Linked DNA regions of Homo sapiens: all the other regions are linked to region 3. Evidence: promoter capture Hi-C in human tissues and cell types (Jung and others, 2019). All regions are on one chromosome and are shown on one strand. The core of a region is centred on a gene start or on the middle of the fragment in contact, and the rest is flanking DNA. Distances in the headings are between cores, read along the strand shown. Region 1 overlaps BATF (basic leucine zipper ATF-like transcription factor). Region 2 has its middle 27 kb from the start of BATF. Region 3 holds the start of PGF (placental growth factor).

Region 1 (2,796 bases), core at 198-2,697, 580 kb before region 3:
TGTGTTGGCCAGGATGGTCTCAGTCTCCTGACCTCATGATCTGCCCACCTTGGCCTCCCAAACAGTCGTTCTTTACAGCATCAACACCAGCATGGAGCTGGACTCCCAATTTCCAATATGCCTCCCAAACTTAGCCATGCCGACCCGTCATCGGTAAGACAAGCAGTTAGGGGTGGTGGATTTCCTTGATGTGTTTTCCCTCCCCAAATGAAAATAGCCTAATTTTTAAAATTCTGATTTTTAAAATGGCACACATTCATTATAATAAAAAAGAGAGAAAAGTACCAAGAATAAGATGAACTACCCAAACTCAACCACTCATAACTGCTATTAGCATTTTGGAGAATATCCTTCCGGATATCTCTTTATGCATGCGACCATGCCCAAAACCCACAAATTTTACGTGAAAGGGTTATACTCTGCATGCTCTTTGTAATTTGCCTTTTTCACTTAATGCTGTATCACTGACATCTTTCTATGCTGATAAATACAGATCTACATAATCATTTTTAGTACCAGCATAAATTTTTTTATTGTATGAATGTATCATAATATGCTTCATCTTCTGTTGTAAGCCCCCTGTCAAGTTTTATAGCATTGTTAAAGTATTTACTATTCACAGATAATGATGAACTAAGCATCTTTGTAAATTATTTTTTCTTCAAACTCTGTTGTGTCAAAGGTAATTCCTGTGAAAGATGTTAACATTTATTGCTACACAGACTTCTCAAAAAAGATTTCAATTGACATATTGTATCATTTGATATACCAATTGTATCTATCTATATATAGTACCTATCTATATATGTTGATATCATGATATATATGACATATATGATATCAATTGTACAATGGATATACTGTATTGAAAGTAAACATGTCTTTACTTTCTTGATCACGCCTGATGATGGCTGGGGGACAGTGTAGATTTTGGAGGATATTGCTTAAAAGACAAAAAAATTAATTCATGTAGAGATTCAAGGAAAATATAGGTTAGGGAAGATGAATACATCTTCATCAGAGTTTGAAGAAAGAGGCAGTAAAACTTAATGGTTAGGAAAATGGGTTCTGACGTCAGACAGACCTAGTCACAAGCTGTGTCATCTCCATCAAGTTACTTAATGCAAGGAATTATAAAATACAGCTTTTATGCAGATTAAATGAGATGCTGCAGGGAGAGCACTTGAGGCACAGTGGTTAATACATAGTCGTTTGTTCAATTAACATGGTTTTTTCTTAAAAGAAATTCATAGCAATGGAGACAGAAGGGTCGCATCTCTTTCCATAGATGGTTCACTGATTCTACATTGAACTTTTTAAGGGTGGAACTAGCCTGAACATTCCTGACCTGTGACTTATCTGTGCCAACAAACATTATGGCATGGTCTCCCAGAGAGAGCAAAAGAATTCCAGGAGTGAAATAGGACCGTAAGCATCCTTCTCTGCCTCCTCAGAAGGCCAAGAACAATAGTGCTACCCAAACATCTTTTCCTCCATTACTCAATTTTTCTCCAATTGTAAATACCGTATTTCTCACAGTGTTAGCTCAAAGCTTCATTTAATGCATAATTTATACTCATGACTTTTCTGTCATATATGACAAAGCACATCCCTGGAGCCTGTAAACCTCTCTTTTTTCTTATACTGGTGTGAGACTCCTTCAGGAGGCAGCCCCAGGCAAGCACCTGGCCCACTTCCATCTAAGACAGTACCTAAATCTCAAGCTTTCAAACTTGGCTGTTACTCTCACTTGCTTTCAGCTCCATCCACCAGGCCAGATATGACTTGTCAACAGCTCGGCTCAGGGCTAACACTGCTATTTGCCACTGCTCCCGGCAACTCCACTGATTTTAGCCTTTTCATGAATAAAGCTTCTTAATTGACCTCAGCTCTCTTTTCCACTGATCCTGGTCTTTGACTTGAAATCCTTCCAGCTGTACGGCACCAGATAGCCATGACCAACCAACCAAGATGGCTACACAAAGGAAACGGATTTGCCATCTTTTATCATATAGTACTGTGGACCTTAGAGTCACTCAAATCCCAACTTACAGTTGGTTCTCCCAAGGGCTGAGATATTTATGTATGATGTTCAAAAGATAACGTCAAGATTGAATACTCTTCCATGTCGTGATGGAAGATTATTCAATGTTTGATGTCAAAATTAGAAAAGAAATCCTCCTAATGCATGTGTGGTAATGATCAATGCTGAGAATTTTGATATCTATATTATAAAGATAAAAGCATGTGATAAAAAATCCCAAACTGTATAAAAGGTAAAGAATGCCAAGTATCTCCCTCTTGCTTTAGATCTTTAGTCCTACTTTTCAGAAATAAATATCATTAACAATTTTTTATAATCTATTTGAAAAAGTTTGCATTTATACTTATGCATATATGTAACTTTTTCTTTTTATTAAAAACACAGAAGGGGCTGGGTGCTGTTGCTCACACCTGTAATCCCAGCACTTTGGGAGGCCAAGGTGGGCAGGGCAGATCACTTGAGCTCAGGAGTTCGAGACCAGCCTGGGCAACATAGTGAGACCCTGTCTCTAAAAATAAAAAATAAATAAATAAATAAAACATTAAATTAAAAAACTAATGGTAGCAAACTATGGACTATATTTATGCCTTTTTAACTTAAAGTACAGAAGTGATAATCCTTCCAGATTAGCACATTCAGATGTAACTCATTATTTTAACATATCTGCAATATTCCACAGAATGGACAATAATTTATTGAATCCCTTATTGGTGGATTTTTTTAGCTTATGTTCAGTCTTTCCTATAAGAAAC
Region 2 (3,081 bases), core at 295-2,794, 540 kb before region 3:
CCCCAGCTCCTCGAGCCAATATTGCCTCAGTCCAAGCCATCAGAGGAGTCTGAGAAGCCCCTCAAAGTCAAAATTCCAAACTGGGAGAGGGACTCTCATGAGTCTACTTTGAGTCAAGAGTCTACTCCTGGGCCCCTCAGTCACTCATTGGGGGTCTTACAAACATGGCTGCCAGAGCCCACTCTTACAGAGGGCGCTGGACAGCTCCCACAGACAGGGGCTGAGGGGACTGTAGTTGAGAGCACGCTCTCAAAAGTGTCATCTGTAGGAAGTAAAGAAGGAAGCAGAAAAATAGAAGCTGAGTTTCTATTCAGGGCCCGATGCTTTGGCAAATGTCTTAAAAATAAGGAGTTTCACTCCCTGGAGAAGAGGGTTAGGGTTTTGTGTCCACCTCATGCCAGGAACTCTGCAATAGGGCAGAAGGTGGGAGACCTACTTACCTTGAAGGAGCTAACAATCCCTTGGGAATGTCACAAAGGAAACTAAAGTGGCATTAGAAAGCCTGGCCCCTCCTTCGAGCCCACCCACACCCCATCCCTCAAGGCCTAGATCACGTTCCTCCTCCTCCTCCTCTGTGAAGCCTTTTCTCACCACTCCAGCTTTGGTGTTGAGAGGGACATGATGTGGTGTGGCAGAGAGAACCAGGGACTGAGAATCCATCACTAGGGACCTGGTTCTGGCTTTGCCACTAACTAGCTGTGTGACCCTGAAGATGCCGTTGGTCCAGCCTCAGTGGCCTCATCTGTAGGCTGAGGATGCTTGATCTACTCTAGGGAAGCCTTTAGGGAGGCTTAAAACTTTAAGAGTCTATGAAAAATGTTATCTCCAACTCCTTAGAACTTCTTCAGAATGAAAAGTCGGGGCAACATGATTCCTTTCCTAATTTCCAATGGTCTTATCGTGGTTCAAAGTGAAAATGCAACACGGCAGATTGGTTAGGAGCATGGGCTCTCAAAAGGTGACTTATCCATGCTCTGCAGTATCTTCTCATTGGCAGAATGTTCTAGAGTGGACTGTCTGGCTGCTTCCTGTGGTATTATAAGCTTTGCAAAAGCAGAAGACCTCCCACCTCCCGTGGTTTTGCACATTTGGAAGCTTGCCAGCTCTGGACAACCCAAATGACATCTATGTTTTCCTACCTACATTTGGGATCTTGACCGGCATTCTGGAACAAATTCTACCACTCCGGAAAATTTAAGCTTTCAGCTTCTTTTGCTGTTACCCATATGGTTGCCAAACTTGAAATTATGGTGTTGGCTAAATTCCCATCAATAATATCAGGTGACCCCTAGGGTTGTTGTGGGACTGGAAGTCGGCCAATTTCTATTACCTTAATGTATGAAGAGAAATGAACAGAGGTCCTAAGTGTTTTCAAATAGCTTGATAATTTATAGAAGAAGAAAAGAGAAAGAAGAAGAGGTAGAGGAAGAGGAGGAAGAGGGAGGGGAAAAAAGAAAAAGGAGAAGGGGAAAAGGGTGAGGGGAGGAGGTAATGAGGAAGAAAATGGCACTGAAATTTGACACAAAGAAAATAAACTAATTTTGAAACTCTCGGAACTACAACCTCACGCAGTTGGGTCTTTGTATAAGGATGATGTTGCTACTTTCTGTAGACAAAATCTCAAGGTGTCAAATGTCAAATGTCAGCAGTTGGAAGGACCTTGAAACTCAGAAACTCTATGAAAGGATATCCTTTCACATTGAGATTTTAGCTATCTCTTATGTTCATCTACGCAGAGACTTCATTTAAAATTCTGTTAAATGAAATCAACAGTTTTATGATACTTCCCTCCTCCAAAAAGGATGGGGGAAGCTAGAATCAGACGACTGAATTGAATCACAGCTCCACCCCTTGCAAACCATGTGCCTTTAGGCAAATTATTTAATCTTTCCGCATCTTAATTTTCTCACCTGAAAAATGAAGATATTACCAGTATATGTATCATGGAGCTGTTTGGAGGATTCCATGAATTTACAGCTTGGGTGCACTTGGTTAATGGCAGCCTCTGCCATCATTAATATGGCCATATCCTGTGATTCAGAATGTGACTCAGAGGCAAAGAGGTCTCACATCATGTGACAAGTCTTTGGGGCAAATGTCCGGTGACATCGCCAATTTCCTTCCCAAAGCCAAGAATCACTTAGCTCCATGACCGCCATGTTCACAGACTTCATTTCACTGGCCAGAGAATGGAAGCTCAGCAAAACCACACATGCCCCGGTGGCCCATGCTCCAGCTCAGCCTTTTAGCTATGCAGAGATGCACCACTTAATATTCCCCAACACCACCCCTTCTCTGCAGCATGGTAGAGGAAGGGTCCAGCACTTTGATTCACCTGTGCGAACATCTAAAGGTCGCTTCTCCCATGACACACAATGAGAGGACAACTGAGCTGAGATTCCCAGGGACCCTTTGGGCATCATGGGGATGGGAAGATGGGGTGTTGGAATCTCCCCATCTTTCAAGAAAGGTGACATCAGCATGGCCTGCTACCATGCACTCAGGCCAGAAAAGGTCTCAGCTGACCATCCTGGCTAACACGGTGAAACCCCGTCTCTACTAAAAATACAAAAAATTAGCCAGGCATGGTGGCGGGCACCTGTAGTCTCAGCTACTTGGGAGGCTGAAGCAGGAGAATGGCGTGAACCCGGGAGATGGAGCTTGCGGTGAGCCGAGATCACGCTACTGCACTCCAGCCTGGGGGACAGAGTGAGACTTTGTCTCAAAAAAAAAAAAAAAAAAAGAAAGAAAGAAAAGAAAAGAAAAGGTCTCAGCTATAATGAGACCACCTTGCCCCATCCCCACCCCCAAAATGACCACATGGACAGGGGCTGGCTCCCCTAGTTGTGGAATAATAGGGCACATGTACATCTGCTGATGCAAACCTTTAATGGATAATCATATAAGATATTTCACTATAACCAGGCTTCTTTTAAAGTTAGTACAATAGTTCCAACTTTCTTTATCACAATAATATAAAGAGTTGAAAAATTCTAATCATTCATTGAGCACCTATTATATGCCAGGCCCCATGCCAAGTGCTTTACAATCAGAATCTCATTTGAGGCTCACTCCACTGTG
Region 3 (2,888 bases), core at 92-2,591:
GGTCACTGGGGTGAGAGCTGGGGCTGCCCTGGCCTCCCTGCTCTTGGCTGGAATGTGAGCTGTAGGGGCCACTTCCCAGGCCTCGCTCCTCCCCCACAGCCACCCACCAGCCCCAGGCCCAGCCAACTCGTGACTCCCAGTCCTGCCAGGTTCCTGCAGCCTGGGAGCTGGACACAGAAGGCAGTGAGAGGAGTGGTGGTAAAGAAAGATCCAGAACCAAGGGAGGGCACACACAAACGCAGAGAGAGAGGCACAGTCTTCACCCACAGAGACAGACACACACACGCAGAGACAGGCAGGCGTGCAGACTCACAGTCCCACCGAAAGATACACATTCAGACACTTCCAAACACACCCAGATACACAGCGGACACGAACAGATCACACAAGCATACAGAGATACAGAGAGACCTGACCCCCACACAGAGGCGTATTTGGAGGTACAGTAGTCACACGTACTCAGACCACACAGAGGCTCAGATGCACCGCTCATGGATATTCACAGACCCGCAAATGCCCATGCACACGCGCAGATGCACACAGACCCCCGCGCAGCGTACAGTTCCTCCTCGGCCAGGGACCAGGAGGAGATGCCTGAGTGAGACCACTCTCTACCACAGGGGGCTGCCCCGCAGGGAGGGCCTGGGAAGACTGCTTCCCAAGGAGGCAACAGGCCTGATCCTCCAGCCAGGTGCCCTGAGAGGTTTCCTGTGGGAGGCCCACTGTGTCCGTGCCTGGCTAGGAGGGTGGTAGGTCGGGTTAGAGTTCTGGAGTCACGTAGGCTTGGGTTTTGTCTCTGCCAGTTCCTCGGACACACAGATGCGCGCACACACACAACACACACACACTTTCCAAGAATGCCTATGTCCATTCGACATATGCAGGCAGGGGTGCTCTCGGAGCCTCGGTTTCTTCATCTATATAACCTGGCTAGGAATCCCTTGGCCCCCTAGGGGTGTGGGCATGGCTGCCTTCCCAGGCATCCCGGACGGCCCTTCCTGCAGAGGCGGTTAGATCATGAGCCTTGACGGCTGACGCTGGACTCCTGGATGCCCCCATCCCAGGTGACCGCCCTGAGAGCCGAAGCAGGGCTGTGGGCCCTGTGGGCGGGCGCGGCGCGGCCCGGGGAGCTGCGGGCTGGGCTCGGCGAGGCGTCTGGACCTGCCGAGAGCCCCTCGCACGCACTGCGGGCTCCGGCGCTGCGGGCTGGCCGGGCGCTGCGGGCTGACCGGGCGCTCCGGGAACTCGGCTCGGGAACCTCGTCTGCGGTGGGCGGGGCCGGCCCGGAGCCCCGCCCCGGCTCAGTCCCTGAAACCCAGGCGCGGACCGGCTGCAGTCTCAGAAGGGAGCTGCTGTCTGCGGAGGAAACTGCATCGACGGACGGCCGCCCAGCTACGGGAGGACCTGGAGTGGCACTGGGCGCCCGACGGACCATCCCCGGGACCCGCCTGCCCCTCGGCGCCCCGCCCCGCCGGGCCGCTCCCCGTCGGGTTCCCCAGCCACAGCCTTACCTACGGGCTCCTGACTCCGCAAGGCTTCCAGAAGATGCTCGAACCACCGGCCGGGGCCTCGGGGCAGCAGTGAGGGAGGCGTCCAGCCCCCCACTCAGCTCTTCTCCTCCTGTGCCAGGGGCTCCCCGGGGGATGAGCATGGTGGTTTTCCCTCGGAGCCCCCTGGCTCGGGACGTCTGAGAAGATGCCGGTCATGAGGCTGTTCCCTTGCTTCCTGCAGCTCCTGGCCGGGCTGGCGCTGCCTGCTGTGCCCCCCCAGGTAAGAGCTACCCCCACCTAGCCTGGCTCCCCAGACCTCCCCATCCCAGCACTGGAAGCATGGGACTCTGAAATCACAGACCCACTCCAGGGAGCAGCAACTCCAAGGATGTCCACACACTTCCTAAAGGCCAGGCTGGACTTCTTTCGTTTGGGAAGAGACCTCAGGCTGGCTGTCCCCCAGGTCCTGGGGGCTGTCTTGGTGGGGGCAGGGAAGCCACAGGGAGGGAGGGAGGGAGGGAGGTTTCCTGTCTGGCCCCTGGAGCCCTGGTGGCTTTGCTAAAAGCATCTGTCCACTAATCCCAGGCGGGTCCCTGGCCTTGTGGTCAGGGTCGAGGCCCCATGGCCAACCAGGCGTCCCCAGGACCTCTGACCTGGCCTGGTGGGGGTGGCGGAGGAGCCAGCTGAAGAAGCTGTTGGTGGGGAGGCTGGCCCTGCCCCCACCAGGGCTCAGGACTGAGCCGTGGGCTCCTGGGTGGGCTGGGGACGAGACAAGGGGTCTCGCTGTGCCTTTTCTCCTGGGTGGGTGGCCGGAGGTCCTGAGTGCAGGGCCTGGGGAAGTGAGCAGGGCCCTTTTCCCAGGAGCCGGGTGAGTCTGGCTGGGAGCCAGCTTGGGCAGTGAAATCCTGACAAAGCCAATGAACTGCCTTCCCACTGCGTTGTCCCACTGCCCTGGGAGTCCCCAGCCCCAGCCCAAGAGTAGGAGTGGGCTGGGCAGTCCCTGAGGAGTCCGAGCAGCCCAGCCACCCGCCTGCCTGCTGCAGGGCTGGCCAGAGGTGTAACGTTACCGGCTGCACCAGCTCATGGCGCCACCCGCTCCAGCCCCTCAGCTCCCACCAGCTGATCACCTCCCCCTGGGCTCTGGCACCCAGCCAAGGCGGGCTGTGCAGGGCCCAGCAGGGTTGGCCTGGGGGCTGGGTAGAAGGCAGACCCGCAGGATTGGAAGATCTTTGGGATGCAGCAGGCCAAGGGTCTCCAAAAGCTTCTAGCCTCCCATCCTTTTCCAAATGAGGAAAACTGAGGCCAGAGAGGGGTGGGACCTAACCTACCCAGGGTCCAGTGAGTTTTTAGTGGTACTCAGGCTGCTCTGAGACAGGGCAGAGCATGTGCAGCAAGTGG

The links. The method cuts DNA at HindIII sites, captures the fragments that hold promoters and counts their contacts. A contact is called where the count stands out against the background at its distance.
Region 1: a fragment that was not itself captured here is called in contact with the fragment with the promoter of PGF in region 3 in 1 of the 25 tissues and cell types used here (bladder).
Region 2: a fragment that was not itself captured here is called in contact with the fragment with the promoter of PGF in region 3 in 1 of the 25 tissues and cell types used here (IMR-90 fibroblasts).

Annotation. Positions count from the first base shown.
Region 1 is chr14:75,530,450-75,533,245 of GRCh38, reverse strand. All of the region lies in intron 2 of BATF (basic leucine zipper ATF-like transcription factor), which reads right to left. Among named protein-coding and RNA genes, the nearest start is that of BATF, 9.4 kb to the right of the region's middle. The HindIII fragment of the contact is 4,289 bases long and covers 1-2,796 here.
Region 2 is chr14:75,494,070-75,497,150 of GRCh38, reverse strand. No RefSeq gene overlaps it. Among named protein-coding and RNA genes, the nearest start is that of BATF, 27 kb to the left of the region's middle. RefSeq lists an enhancer at 1-20. The HindIII fragment of the contact is 3,218 bases long and covers 1-3,081 here.
Region 3 is chr14:74,954,050-74,956,937 of GRCh38, reverse strand. It overlaps PGF (placental growth factor), which reads left to right and starts at 1,341. Exons shown (of 7, transcript NM_002632.6): 1 at 1,341-1,770. The coding sequence starts at 1,696. RefSeq lists silencers at 1,195-1,294, 1,475-1,544. The HindIII fragment of the contact is 10,779 bases long and covers 1-2,888 here.